Linked DNA regions of Homo sapiens: region 2 is linked to region 1. The links are contacts of gene promoters, found by promoter capture Hi-C in blood cells and fetal thymus (Javierre and others, 2016). All regions are on one chromosome and are shown on one strand. Each heading gives the region's core, a stretch centred on a gene start or on the middle of the fragment in contact. The rest is flanking DNA. Distances are from core to core; before and after follow the strand shown. Region 1 holds the start of FMR1-AS1 (FMR1 antisense RNA 1). Region 2 overlaps HMGB3 (high mobility group box 3).

Region 1 (7,492 bases), core at 3,669-6,168:
CTGAAAAAAACTGAACAGTCGAAATTTTTTCATTACAAATGTCTGCTCAATGAAAGACATTGTTAAATGAATGAAAAGACAAGCCACTGTCTGGGAGAAAATATCTGCAAAATACATAATCTGATAAAGGGCTGATATCTAAAATATATAAAGAACACTGAAAAATCATCAATAAAAAAAACCCAATGGGTAACAGATCTGAGCAGACACCTTATCAAAGAAGATACATACGTGACAAACAAGCATAAGATGCCCAATGCCATATGTCATTAGGAAATTGCAAACTAAAACAATAAGATTCTACTATGCACCTATTAAAATACCCAAAATTCAAAATACTGGCAACACCAAATGTTGGCAAGGATGTGGAGTAACAGGAAGTCTCACTCATTGCTGGTGAAAATGCAAACTGTTACAGCCACTTTGGAAGATCATCTGGTAATTTTTGATAAAGCAAAACATAGTCTTACCATATGATCCAGCAATCATGCTCCTTGGTATTTACCTAAATGAGTTGAAAACTTATGTCCATACAAAAATCTGTACAAGAAAGTTTACAGGAGCCTTATTCATAATTTTAAAAGACTGAAAGCAACCAAGATGTCTTTCAATAAATAAATGGATAAACAAACCATGGTATATACATACAGTGGAATACTGTGCACAATAAAAGAAAATAAACTATCAAGCCATGAAAAGACACAGAGGAATGTTAAATGTATATTGCTAAGTAAAAAAAAAAAAGCAGTATGAAAAGACTACATACTATATGATTCCAACTCTATGACATTACGGAAAAGGCAAAATTCTGCAGAAAGTAAAAACATCAGTGATTGCCAAGGGTTGGTTGCAGGTAGACCAGATGAATAGGTGGAACACAAGGAATTTTTTAATGCAGTGTAATTGTTCTGCTGACACTGTAATGGTGGATATGTTATGCTTTTTTCAAAACCCACAGAGCTATGCAACACAAAGAGTGAATCTTAATGTAAACTATAGACTTTAGTTAGTAATAATGCATCAGTTGTAATAAATGTACAATGCGAATGCAAGATGTTAATAACAGGAGGAACTGTAGGGGAGGAGGGAGATTAGGAAGTACATAGAAACTCTCTCCACTATCTGCTTAATTTTTCCATAAATGTAAAACTGTTCTAAAAAATAAAGCCAATTAATTATTCTTTTTCTAATATCTCATTTGAATGAGAGGTCATGGTTAAAGGAAATTGTCAGAGAAAGTGTCAAGAAAGAAGTGTGACTTTAGCTGGGTCCTGAAGGGTACATAAGATTTGAGAGTCGGAAAGGGCAGAAGGCATTTCAGCTGGGTTTGAGCCATGGAAAAGACTCAGAGGGCTCAAATTGCGAAGGAGCAGGAAATAGCACAGAATAAATCAATGCAAAGACAACAGGCAGCAATTTAATGGAAACCAAGGGCCAAGGCAGGGCTAGAAACACTGAAGCATCATTCCAATATCAGATAAATATAGGCATGAGAGCTGACTCAACCTCGGCCGGGTCCTCAACACATATTCGTTCATTCATGTAATATTTAGTAAACATTCACTATGTTCCAGACACTGTGGTAGGCACTGGGGACAAGCAGTGAATAAAACAAATGGAAATCTTTGTTCTCACTGAGCTTACACTCTAGTGAGGGGAGAGAGACAGAACCTGTCTGCTATTTTCAAGAAACAACAAAGAAAACATTATGGCTGGAATGAGAAACAATGGCCTTTTCAATAAACAGTGCTGGAATAACTGGACATTCATATGCAAAAAATAATCTAGATACAGACCTTATATCTTTTGAAAAAAATTTACTCAAAATGGATCATAGACCTAAATGCAAAACACAAAACTGTAAAACTTCTGAAAGATAACATAGGAGAAAATCTAGGTGAACTAGATAGATTTCATGCACTGGAATGAAGTGAAGGGGGAAAGTAGAAGGTGAGATAGCGGAGATAACAGAAGTCAGAGTATATAGGGCACTGAAGCCAGAATAAATAATGACTCTGGCTTTTACTCTGAGAGATGTAGGGAGTCACTGGGGGATTGTGAGTGGCAGAGTGACTTGATTGACACCTCAACAGGGTCATTCTGTCTTCTGTGCTGAGAACTGTCAGAGAGGGTACAACAGTGGACAGTGACTGCAGGGATACCAGCGAAGAAGTTGCTGCCATAATGCAGGTAAGAGAATGGAAGCTTGGACTATGGTTTTAGCTGAGCAAATGATCAGAAACAGAGTCTGGATTCTACAATGATTTGCTGATGGATCTGATGTGTGAAAGAGGGTCAAAATGTCTCAGTTTTAGGCTTGAGCAACGAACTGGAAGGCAGGAGCTGCCTGTAACGAGAGACAGGAGAGAAAGAGAGAGAGAGAGAGAGGACTTTGGAAGAGCAGGCTCATGATCAGGCCTGAGCTCAGTGTCTGAATTCAGGTAAGCTATCTTGAAAGGGGAAATATCAAAAGCTAGAGATCAGAGTAAGGCTGAGACTCAGAGTCAAGTGGGGAAGACTAAGTTGCAGTATGTACTGGCAGTGAAGATAAGTATTTATTCATTCATTGAACATACCTTGAAATCAACCACTTTTAATGTGCCAGGGACACAAAGATAGAAAAGACATTTGCCCTGTCTGGAAGGTACTAATAATCCAATAAGGAAAACAGAAATATAAATAAATTATTCTAGTACACTAACCATCATAGTAGAGGTATTCAACATTTGTTGAGTCTCTGCTATATGCCAAGCAGTGTAATGAGGAAGCAGAGGGTATGCACAAAGTTCTACAAGAGCACAAAATAAGTTCTGGCAAAGGTTTGTAAAGACATTCACAAGGGTTTTCACCACAGTATGACTTCAGGGAGTTGGCAGTAACCTAGATGCCCGATCAGTAGGGATATGTATGAATAAAATTTCTGGCATACTCGGTAGCAAACTAGGTGTACACACAGCAATGTGGGTATAGCTCAAAAACAGACTGTTGAGTAAAACAGTGGGAAATAGAGATTTACAGTCCAATACCATCTCTGTAAATGCAAGAGGCATAAACAAAACATTATCTGTGTTAAATTATCAAGGATCTCTATCGAACATATTGCAGCTTGTGTCTAGAAGAATGAGAGTGGGGATCGAGAAAGATGAGGAAAAAATAATATAAACACTATAAAATAATGTAAACAAGGACCCTGTAGGGACTGATATGACAATGTGCTGAAAATTGAGGAGCAAAGTTAACTCTCTGTACCTGAGATAAAATAACTAGCTAATAGGAATCCAGCTGAAAACCTTAAGGTGCAGGGCCTCTATGGGGCCCAGGAAGGATGTGTAGAGACATGAACGGATGAAAGTGCATCACAGGTTCAGGGAACAACACAGGTTGAGTGTGGCTTGTAGTAAAAATGGTTGTGAAGAGTTGACATATTTTTAAGCCCTGGGTAAATTGAACAACAGCTTACACTTGGAGGGGTATAATCATTCTAATCAATGTGTCCCCTTTTACTATAATACATTGGAGTTGCAGCTAATGCTCTGCTCCCATTCAGCCTATGATGAGATTCTCTTTCAGCCCTATTGGGTTCTTGGCCTCATGTGACTACTCCAAAGACCCTAGTCCAAAAGGTCTTTCCTGTTTGCTATGGCCTTGAGGAATGTGGCCCTAGATCCACCGCTTTAAAGCTGGAGTTCCACCAGCAGCAACATCCTCTCATTCTGGGGCACCTGCCTGGGGCAGGTCATCCTGCCTCTGCCAACTCAGTGCTATTAGTTAACTCTCACCTGCCATATTCCAGCTGGAATCATCTCCCCTTCTCCACCCCAGACTAGGTCATGTTCCGCCATCATGGAAGCGCCTATTCTTCATACCCCTTATCACAGCTGCAACTACTCATTTACTTGTCTGACAATTTGATTTATGTCCACCTACTTTGCTAGGTACTAAGTTCAATGCTGGCAGTCGTTTCTTCTTTTTTTTTCTTTTCTGTTTTGCTCACCGATTTCTCGTTAGCACTTAGCACAGTGTCTGGCACACGATAGATGCTCCGTCAACTTCTCAGTTGGATACCAGCATCCCGAAGGGAACATGGATTAAGGCAGCTATAAGCACGGTGTAAAAACAGGAATAAGAAAAAGTTGAGGTTTGTTTCACAGTGGAATGTAAAGGGTTGCAAGGAGGTGCATCGGCCCCTGTGGACAGGACGCATGACTGCTACACACGTGTTCACCCCACCCTCTGGCACAGGGTGCACATACAGTAGGGGCAGAAATGAACCTCAAGTGCTTAACACAATTTTTAAAAAATATATAGTCAAGTGAAAGTATGAAAATGAGTTGAGGAAAGGCGAGTACGTGGGTCAAAGCTGGGTCTGAGGAAAGGCTCACATTTTGAGATCCCGACTCAATCCATGTCCCTTAAAGGGCACAGGGTGTCTCCACAGGGCCGCCCAAAATCTGGTGAGAGAGGGCGTAGACGCCTCACCTTCTGCCTCTACGGGTCACAAAAGCCTGGGTCACCCTGGTTGCCACTGTTCCTAGTTCAAAGTCTTCTTCTGTCTAATCCTTCACCCCTATTCTCGCCTTCCACTCCACCTCCCGCTCAGTCAGACTGCGCTACTTTGAACCGGACCAAACCAAACCAAACCAAACCAAACCAAACCAGACCAGACACCCCCTCCCGCGGAATCCCAGAGAGGCCGAACTGGGATAACCGGATGCATTTGATTTCCCACGCCACTGAGTGCACCTCTGCAGAAATGGGCGTTCTGGCCCTCGCGAGGCAGTGCGACCTGTCACCGCCCTTCAGCCTTCCCGCCCTCCACCAAGCCCGCGCACGCCCGGCCCGCGCGTCTGTCTTTCGACCCGGCACCCCGGCCGGTTCCCAGCAGCGCGCATGCGCGCGCTCCCAGGCCACTTGAAGAGAGAGGGCGGGGCCGAGGGGCTGAGCCCGCGGGGGGAGGGAACAGCGTTGATCACGTGACGTGGTTTCAGTGTTTACACCCGCAGCGGGCCGGGGGTTCGGCCTCAGTCAGGCGCTCAGCTCCGTTTCGGTTTCACTTCCGGTGGAGGGCCGCCTCTGAGCGGGCGGCGGGCCGACGGCGAGCGCGGGCGGCGGCGGTGACGGAGGCGCCGCTGCCAGGGGGCGTGCGGCAGCGCGGCGGCGGCGGCGGCGGCGGCGGCGGCGGAGGCGGCGGCGGCGGCGGCGGCGGCGGCGGCTGGGCCTCGAGCGCCCGCAGCCCACCTCTCGGGGGCGGGCTCCCGGCGCTAGCAGGGCTGAAGAGAAGATGGAGGAGCTGGTGGTGGAAGTGCGGGGCTCCAATGGCGCTTTCTACAAGGTACTTGGCTCTAGGGCAGGCCCCATCTTCGCCCTTCCTTCCCTCCCTTTTCTTCTTGGTGTCGGCGGGAGGCAGGCCCGGGGCCCTCTTCCCGAGCACCGCGCCTGGGTGCCAGGGCACGCTCGGCGGGATGTTGTTGGGAGGGAAGGACTGGACTTGGGGCCTGTTGGAAGCCCCTCTCCGACTCCGAGAGGCCCTAGCGCCTATCGAAATGAGAGACCAGCGAGGAGAGGGTTCTCTTTCGGCGCCGAGCCCCGCCGGGGTGAGCTGGGGATGGGCGAGGGCCGGCGGCAGGTACTAGAGCCGGGCGGGAAGGGCCGAAATCGGCGCTAAGTGACGGCGATGGCTTATTCCCCCTTTCCTAAACATCATCTCCCAGCGGGATCCGGGCCTGTCGTGTGGGTAGTTGTGGAGGAGCGGGGGGCGCTTCAGCCGGGCCGCCTCCTGCAGCGCCAAGAGGGCTTCAGGTCTCCTTTGGCTTCTCTTTTCCGGTCTAGCATTGGGACTTCGGAGAGCTCCACTGTTCTGGGCGAGGGCTGTGAAGAAAGAGTAGTAAGAAGCGGTAGTCGGCACCAAATCACAATGGCAACTGATTTTTAGTGGCTTCTCTTTGTGGATTTCGGAGGAGATTTTAGATCCAAAAGTTTCAGGAAGACCCTAACATGGCCCAGCAGTGCATTGAAGAAGTTGATCATCGTGAATATTCGCGTCCCCCTTTTTGTTAAACGGGGTAAATTCAGGAATGCACATGCTTCAGCGTCTAAAACCATTAGCAGCGCTGCTACTTAAAAATTGTGTGTGTGTGTTTAAGTTTCCAAAGACCTAAATATATGCCATGAAACTTCAGGTAATTAACTGAGAGTATATTATTACTAGGGCATTTTTTTTTTAACTGAGCGAAAATATTTTTGTGCCCCTAAGAACTTGACCACATTTCCTTTGAATTTGTGGTGTTGCAGTGGACTGAATTGTTGAGGCTTTATATAGGCATTCATGGGTTTACTGTGCTTTTTAAAGTTACACCATTGCAGATCAACTAACACCTTTCAGTTTTAAAAGGAAGATTTACAAATTTGATGTAGCAGTAGTGCGTTTGTTGGTATGTAGGTGCTGTATAAATTCATCTATAAATTCTCATTTCCTTTTGAATGTCTATAACCTCTTTCAATAATATCCCACCTTACTACAGTATTTTGGCAATAGAAGGTGCGTGTGGAAGGAAGGCTGGAAAATAGCTATTAGCAGTGTCCAACACAATTCTTAAATGTATTGTAGAATGGCTTGAATGTTTCAGACAGGACACGTTTGGCTATAGGAAAATAAACAATTGACTTTATTCTGTGTTTACCAATTTTATGAAGACATTTGGAGATCAGTATATTTCATAAATGAGTAAAGTATGTAAACTGTTCCATACTTTGAGCACAAAGATAAAGCCTTTTGCTGTAAAAGGAGGCAAAAGGTAACCCCGCGTTTATGTTCTTAACAGTCTCATGAATATGAAATTGTTTCAGTTGACTCTGCAGTCAAAATTTTAATTTCATTGATTTTATTGATCCATAATTTCTTCTGGTGAGTTTGCGTAGAATCGTTCACGGTCCTAGATTAGTGGTTTTGGTCACTAGATTTCTGGCACTAATAACTATAATACATATACATATATATGTGTGAGTAACGGCTAATGGTTAGGCAAGATTTTGATTGACCTGTGATATAAACTTAGATTGGATGCCACTAAAGTTTGCTTATCACAGAGGGCAAGTAGCACATTATGGCCTTGAAGTACTTATTGTTCTCTTCCAGCAACTTATGATTTGCTCCAGTGATTTTGCTTGCACACTGACTGGAATATAAGAAATGCCTTCTATTTTTGCTATTAATTCCCTCCTTTTTTGTTTTGTTTTGTAACGAAGTTGTTTAACTTGAAGGTGAATGAAGAATAGGTTGGTTGCCCCTTAGTTCCCTGAGGAGAAATGTTAATACTTGAACAAGTGTGTGTCAGACAAATTGCTGTTATGTTTATTTAATTAAGTTTGATTTCTAAGAAAATCTCAAATGGTCTGCACTGATGGAAGAACAGTTTCTGTAACAAAAAAGCTTGAAATTTTTATATGACTTATAATACTGCTGTGAGTTTTAAAAGTAAAGCAAAAGTAAACT
Region 2 (7,492 bases), core at 1,620-4,119, 3.1 Mb after region 1:
CTCTTTAGTTTTACATGATGACCTTGGGTGTGGGAAAAGGAAAAGATGGCGGGAAGCTGGGGGGTGGGACAGGGACGATGACATGCCGCAGCTGCATTTTTATTTGGAAACTTTGGAGAAAGTGTTCTCGGCTGGACCTGCATTCTGGGTTACAGATGAGCACGACTAGCCCTTTTTATACACCCTCCCCCTTTAGATAGTGACGAAGTGATGAATTGAACTAATAGTACGGGGGTACCTGCTCACTTTCCAGATCTCCCGTGTTGTAAAGCCGTTTTTTTAGTAAGCCAAAACACATCAACAATAGTGACAATTTCAGATGTCCCCTACGTATAGTTCTCCTGCTTTGGTCTTGTGTTCAGCAGTGGTAAGAGTTGTTGTTTTTAATTGTGTTAACAGTTAGCAGATGACCAGATAGTCTTAAGTCATAGATTTCAAGCTTCTATCACCCCCACCAAATGTGTCCTCTCTCTACCCTTCCCACTTTGTGATTGTAGTTTCCAAAACATAGCAGTTCTGTAAACGTAACACTGAGTACCCTACTTGGGTCGGCTCCATTTGGAGCACTTGATCGCTTTTGAGAAGTAACTCGCAAACCAGCGCGCTTCGTGCTGGTCAAAAGTTAAATGACAAGCGACAATGAAGCTGATTTCTTTCCTACTCTGCCTTCTGCCACTGGTGTCCGGCATTGGGGGAAGGGGACTTCCTAACAGCAAGTGTAGTTTTAGTTTTGCTCTGCCTTTGGTACGTCTTGTACTTCTTGTCAATTCCTCCTTGCTTTTCCTCATTGTATTTCTTTGTTTCTCTTTTATCACAGTCAGGATGGCTAAAGGTGACCCCAAGAAACCAAAGGGCAAGATGTCCGCTTATGCCTTCTTTGTGCAGACATGCAGAGAAGAACATAAGAAGAAAAACCCAGAGGTCCCTGTCAATTTTGCGGAATTTTCCAAGAAGTGCTCTGAGAGGTGGAAGGTATTTTTCTTTGGTACCCTTCAAACTAGTCTTAGTTGGGTTTCTTACTTTGGGGTTACTTACCTTCAGATTTTCTCCCAGATAGCTGCTTGCTTCCTCTTTTACTTTTACTTAGAATCATTTTTGCTTGTCTTAAGAATTTTGTGTGTGTGCTTTTATTTTTTTAAGGCCCTGCACAGGTTTCAGGCCTTTACCTACCCCCTTTTGCAAGTGGTTCTAGCAACTGCTAGTTTAATCACAAGAAACTGAATAGGTATGTGTTCACTGCATCGAGGGATTTAACGAGTCCTGTTCTTTGCAGACGATGTCCGGGAAAGAGAAATCTAAATTTGATGAAATGGCAAAGGCAGATAAAGTGCGCTATGATCGGGAAATGAAGGATTATGGACCAGCTAAGGGAGGCAAGAAGAAGAAGGATCCTAATGCTCCCAAAAGGCCACCGTAAGTGACTATAGGATTCAAGATAACAATTAATACCTTTTCTTCTGCTTGGAGGATTTGGTTTTTTGGTCGTCCTGTATTTCATTTCAAAATGAAATATTTTTTAAAAGATACTTAAAAGATGGCAATACCTCTGCAAACCATTCTGTACTTGGGCTTTACGATGCAGTGCCAGCGTTGTCTGTGGTTAAGGCTGAAGTGTTTGTGGGCTGTGCTTGCACATTCACAGTGGTTGTCTGTTGGCCTTTCCATTGTGAAGGAGGCACTCTAGTTTTGGTTGTCAGGGTCCTTGAAGTATGTTCTTTATGCCTTTCCTAGTAATTGAAAGACTGGGACAGCACCATATATATATGCGCGTATATATACGCATATGTATTATATATGCATACACACACACAGAGCACCATATATATATGCGCGTATATATACGCATATATTTTATATATGCATACACACACACACGCATACATATTTGAGATGGAGTTTCGCTCTTGACCAGGCTGGAGTGCAAGGTGTGATCTTGGCTCACTGCAACCTCCACCTCCTGGGTTCAAGTGATTCTCCTGCCTCAGCCTCCTGAGTAGCTGGGATTACAGACATGCACCACCATGCCCGGCTAATTTTTTTTATATTTTTAGTAGAGACGGGGTTTCTCCATGTTGGTCAGGCTGGTCTGAAACTCCCAACCTCAGGTGATCCGCCTGCCTCGGCCTCCCAAAGTGCTGGAATTACAGGCGTGAGCCGCGCACCACATATTTTTCTAACCTTATATATTTTAGAACCTACAACTTTGTAGCATTGTATATGGTATCATAGATTACTTCACTTTAGGGAGAAGTCATAGTGGTAGGAGGGAGATGCTTCTCAGGAATGTGGGATTTCAACTTTAACTCAAATTTTTTGTGGTTTCTCATGTAATGTATGTAATTCTTCCAAGGTCTGGATTCTTCCTGTTCTGTTCAGAATTCCGCCCCAAGATCAAATCCACAAACCCCGGCATCTCTATTGGAGACGTGGCAAAAAAGCTGGGTGAGATGTGGAATAATTTAAATGACAGTGAAAAGCAGCCTTACATCACTAAGGCGGCAAAGCTGAAGGAGAAGTATGAGAAGGTAAGGTGGGGCTGGAAGCCTGGACTGGTGAACAGGCAGTGGTTCTGCTATCAGTAGGTTGCAGGGCATGTGGCAGCTTTGCTGGGCTGAGTACTTAGCATAGCGCTCAAGGGCCCATCCCCCTGCAAGGTAGCTACGGGTGCTGGTGTTCATGCTTTTTTTTGACAGGTCTTTGTTTTGGGGACAACTTCAGGCTTGAAAAATTTTCCTTACTCTTTAAGGAAAAAAAAATGTTAACAGAGGATTTGATAGTCCTACTAATGTGACTTGAAGGACACTTGAACACCCACTAACTTTTAAATTCGAATGGCTAAGAACCAAATTCATATATGGAAACACTTCAGATATATATGATAGCAGCACTGTCTTACTTGATTTCAATTCCTGTCCTCTTACCTGAGATGAGGACTGCATGTTTCTACTTTGTGTTAAAACAGCCGCATACTCATTTGAAATGTGTCCCTGTTCCTCTAGGATGTTGCTGACTATAAGTCGAAAGGAAAGTTTGATGGTGCAAAGGGTCCTGCTAAAGTTGCCCGGAAAAAGGTGGAAGAGGAAGATGAAGAAGAGGAGGAGGAAGAAGAGGAGGAGGAGGAGGAGGAGGATGAATAAAGAAACTGTTTATCTGTCTCCTTGTGAATACTTAGAGTAGGGGAGCGCCGTAATTGACACATCTCTTATTTGAGAAGTGTCTGTTGCCCTCATTAGGTTTAATTACAAAATTTGATCACGATCATATTGTAGTCTCTCAAAGTGCTCTAGAAATTGTCAGTGGTTTACATGAAGTGGCCATGGGTGTCTGGAGCACCCTGAAACTGTATCAAAGTTGTACATATTTCCAAACATTTTTAAAATGAAAAGGCACTCTCGTGTTCTCCTCACTCTGTGCACTTTGCTGTTGGTGTGACAAGGCATTTAAAGATGTTTCTGGCATTTTCTTTTTATTTGTAAGGTGGTGGTAACTATGGTTATTGGCTAGAAATCCTGAGTTTTCAACTGTATATATCTATAGTTTGTAAAAAGAACAAAACAACCGAGACAAACCCTTGATGCTCCTTGCTCGGCGTTGAGGCTGTGGGGAAGATGCCTTTTGGGAGAGGCTGTAGCTCAGGGCGTGCACTGTGAGGCTGGACCTGTTGACTCTGCAGGGGGCATCCATTTAGCTTCAGGTTGTCTTGTTTCTGTATATAGTGACATAGCATTCTGCTGCCATCTTAGCTGTGGACAAAGGGGGGTCAGCTGGCATGAGAATATTTTTTTTTTTTAAGTGCGGTAGTTTTTAAACTGTTTGTTTTTAAACAAACTATAGAACTCTTCATTGTCAGCAAAGCAAAGAGTCACTGCATCAATGAAAGTTCAAGAACCTCCTGTACTTAAACACGATTCGCAACGTTCTGTTATTTTTTTTGTATGTTTAGAATGCTGAAATGTTTTTGAAGTTAAATAAACAGTATTACATTTTTAAAACTCTTCTCTATTATAACAGTCAATTTCTGACTCACAGCAGTGAACAAACCCCCACTCCATTGTATTTGGAGACTGGCCTCCCTATAAATGTGGTAGCTTCTTTTATTACTCAGTGGCCAGCTCACTTAGGGCTGAGATGAAGGAGAGGGCTACTTGAAGCTACTGTGTGATTTTGTTTGTGTCTGAGTGGCATTCAGATGAAGTCTGGAGGAGTTAGGAGAACGACATAGGCAAGGTTCAGCAGCCTTCCAAGGTATAGGAAGGTGGGTGATTAGGACTGAGGCTATCTAGGTTTAACTTTTGTCCCACCTCCACCCCCTATTTTGTGGGGCCAAATGCATTGCTAAACAGCAATTTCAGAGTGTATGGTGTGTCAAAAATTAAGGCCTTATTGTTTTTCTCTTTCACCCCTACCCCCCGTGCTCCTGGCACATATCACATTATTTGTGGTGCCCAACATTTGGGGTCTTGAGCCTGCTGCTGGTCTCCTGGATGCCAGTGAGGGTATGTGGGATGGGGTGGTGGGGTAGGGGACGGTATCCTTTTTTTGCTCCTACTTGGAAACACCAAACACCCCAAGGAAGATGATAGGCTCCATCTTGGGCCACCTGAGCTATAGGGCAGGCTAATGGAATCAACCATTTCTGAGCACTAAATGTATCATGAAAAGTTGAATGGCCTGCTCATAAGTTTAGCTCATTCACTGGAAATGTAGATTGATGTTCAATGTTAAACTGGAAGGAGCTTGGTTTGTGTGTCAGTGGTTATATTAGTGGGTAGTGTAACATTTTATCCAGGTTGGGGTGAGGGGAGATGGCCACAGTAGCAAGTGGTGACACTAAATACCATTTTGAAGGCTGATGTGTATATACATCATTACTGTCCGTAGCAATGAAGGATACAGTACTGTGTTGTGGGTGAGTGTTGCTATTGCCCAGCATTAATATTTGGGTGTGTATGTTTGAGGCTATGAAACACGCAGGAGTGTTTTTGTGCTATTAATTTTAAGAGAAAGCAGCTTTTTCTTAAAATTCACTGTTGAGAAACTTGCATGTCTGGAGGCGGTGTCCTCTCCGCCCTGTCGGGTCCTGGATGAGTACGAGTTATGGTCACGGTCACAGCCTGATCTCTTATGTGTTCATAGCCATTCGCTCTCCCATCAGAACTGTTTGTCCTGAATGTGTTCCTCTAGTTCTAGAAAATGACCACTAATTTAAAAAACTCGGTTGTGAGGTTTGCCCAGAGGCACTTGTTCCAGAATTTCCCCTCCTGCTTCAGCCATGTCCTTGTCACTTGGCATTCTAAGCTAAAGCTTTAGCTTCCCAATTCGTGATGTGCTAGGCCAAGATTCGGGAGCTGTTGCCAGCCTCGTCAAATATGGAAGAGAAACAACCTGCGGTCAAAAGGGAGTGATTTGTTAAGTGGTGCGCGTCTATCTCATAACTAGATGTACCAACCAGGGAAGGGCCAAGGATGGAAAGGGGTAACTTTTGTGCTTCCAAAGTAGCTAAGCAGAAGTGGGGGAGCAGTTTAGCCAGATGATCTTTGATTAGGCAAACATTGAGTTTTAAAGAGGCTGTCAAGTTGAGGCCACTTGGTCCATTAGCTGGGGCAGCAAGATCACTACTCAACGTTTTCACACTGTGGCAAGATTGCTCTTCTAGTGGAATAATGCCCTAGTTTCTCTGAGATGATGTAAGTGGCATGATGTTACCTAAGGCTTAGGCTTAGCTTGATTTCTGGGCCCACTGTCTGTGTTCTTAAGATGCCAACCTGTTGCTTTTTTTTTTTTTTTCCCCCATTTAAAAGGATAGTACCTACTCCCTCTAACCACCTCACCCCATTCTTGAATGACATTTTATCCTTCGGAAAGAACAAGGCTGTGATGTAGTGACTATTGTCTGTGTCTCCTGTGTGTGTCTGTTCTTGTCACAAATGTATTTGGGGACGTTGGATGCATTCATTTTCTGTAATAAAGTTTCTTAATCACTCTTCCCAAAAAGTAATCAGTGGGCTGTCTGCGATCTGTCTGAGATACTGAACCTCTGTACTTTTGGTTGATTATCATCAAGGTTTTAGAAGTGCAAACTTTGTGGTAACCATAGATCTGAACTACTAACATTTAGTGGAATGATACCATCAAAATGACTTAAGTGTTAAGGACTCCAAAGCCCCAAGATCAACCTCCTGGCCCGAGGCATAAGGGGGAGTTGGCTCTGAAGCCCTGGACCAGGATAAATAGGCAATTTGCAGGATGCTAACGAGCTACTATTTGATAAAGTGGTTGGGTACTTGTAATCAGCCAGCCCTGCCCACAGGGCTCCTCGAGGCCAAGGGTCTGGGCTTAGTTGGCTGACTCAGCCATGCCCAACAAGGAGTTCTGGAGGAGAGCCACAGGGACCGCTTGCTGTTCTTGGCTCCCAGCTCAGTTTTCTGTGGAGCCCAAGGCTACCTGGTAAGGAAAGGCCATTGAGCCAGCTTGGCGGCCCCAAGCTTCCCTTACTGCTTCAACCAGAGCAGCCTCCCACCCTGTTTTATATGTTGGGCATCCTACGATTTCAGCTTTCAAAAGAAGCTGGGATACCATATCAATAAAAGGAAAAAGACACACATGATCATCTCAATAGACACAAAAACCTTGACAAACACTTTCATGATAAAAACAAGGGTAGAAGGGAACTTCCTCAACCTGATATAGGACGTTTAGGAAAACCCATGGGTTTATTCATGATTGTACTAGAAGTTCTAGCCAGGGCAATTAGGCAAAAGAAAAAGAAAACATCCAGACTGAAATTGAGAAGACAAAGCTATGTCTATTTGTAGATGATATGACCTTGTATACAGATAACCGTAAGGAATCTCCAAATAAAACTGCTAGAAAAATGAATTGATCATCTGCAGTATACAAGATTAACATACAAAAACTAGTATTTCTATATACCAGCCATGAACAATCTGAAACTAAGAAAACATTCTCTTAAATATCTACAATAACATCAAAAAGAATAAAATATTTAGGAATGAACAATATAAGTGCAAAACTTACATGGGGAAAAGTACAAAACATTAAAGACCTAAGGAAATAGACATTCCACGTTCATGAATGGGAAGGTTTAATATTGTTAAGATGGCAATACTCCTGAAATTGATCTAGAACGCAATCTCTATTAGAATCCCAGCTGGCTTCCTCTAGTAGAAATCAGGCTGATTCTAAATGTCATATAGAAATTCAAGAGATGCAGGAGATACCCAGATCAATCTTGAAAACAGTTGGAGGATTCACATTTCTTGATTTCAAAACTACTTTATTAAAACTTTTTTTTTTTTTTTGAGACAGAGTCTTGCTCTGTTGTCCAGGCTATTGTGCAGTGGCACAATCACAGCTCATTGCAGCTTCAACCTCCCAGGCTCAAGGCATCCTTCCACCTCATCCTCCCAGGTAACTGGGACTACAAGTAGCACCACCGCACCTGGCTAATTTAATTTCTTTTAGAGGCAGG

What was found. The method cuts DNA at HindIII sites, captures the fragments that hold promoters and counts their contacts. A CHiCAGO score of 5 or more calls a contact.
Region 2: a contact is called between a fragment that was not itself captured here and the fragment with the promoter of FMR1-AS1 in region 1, in 2 of 17 cell types (non-activated CD4 T cells and total CD4 T cells). The highest score is 6.6, in non-activated CD4 T cells.

Annotation. Positions count from the first base shown.
Region 1 is chrX:147,906,899-147,914,390 of GRCh38, forward strand. FMR1-AS1 (FMR1 antisense RNA 1) reads right to left here and starts at 4,919. Exons shown (of 2, transcript NR_024503.3): 1 at 4,744-4,919; 2 at 2,533-4,097. It overlaps FMR1 (fragile X messenger ribonucleoprotein 1), which reads left to right and starts at 5,021. Exons shown (of 17, transcript NM_002024.6): 1 at 5,021-5,332. The coding sequence starts at 5,282. RefSeq lists enhancers at 4,552-4,761, 5,342-5,441 and a silencer at 4,842-5,181. The HindIII fragment of the contact is 5,224 bases long and covers 2,204-7,427 here.
Region 2 is chrX:150,984,778-150,992,269 of GRCh38, forward strand. It overlaps HMGB3 (high mobility group box 3), which reads left to right. Exons shown (of 5, transcript NM_005342.4): 2 at 818-972; 3 at 1,274-1,413; 4 at 2,351-2,525; 5 at 3,000-5,994. The coding sequence starts at 823. The coding sequence ends at 3,137. Among named protein-coding and RNA genes, the nearest start is that of HMGB3, 5.2 kb to the left of the region's middle. The HindIII fragment of the contact is 4,865 bases long and covers 438-5,302 here.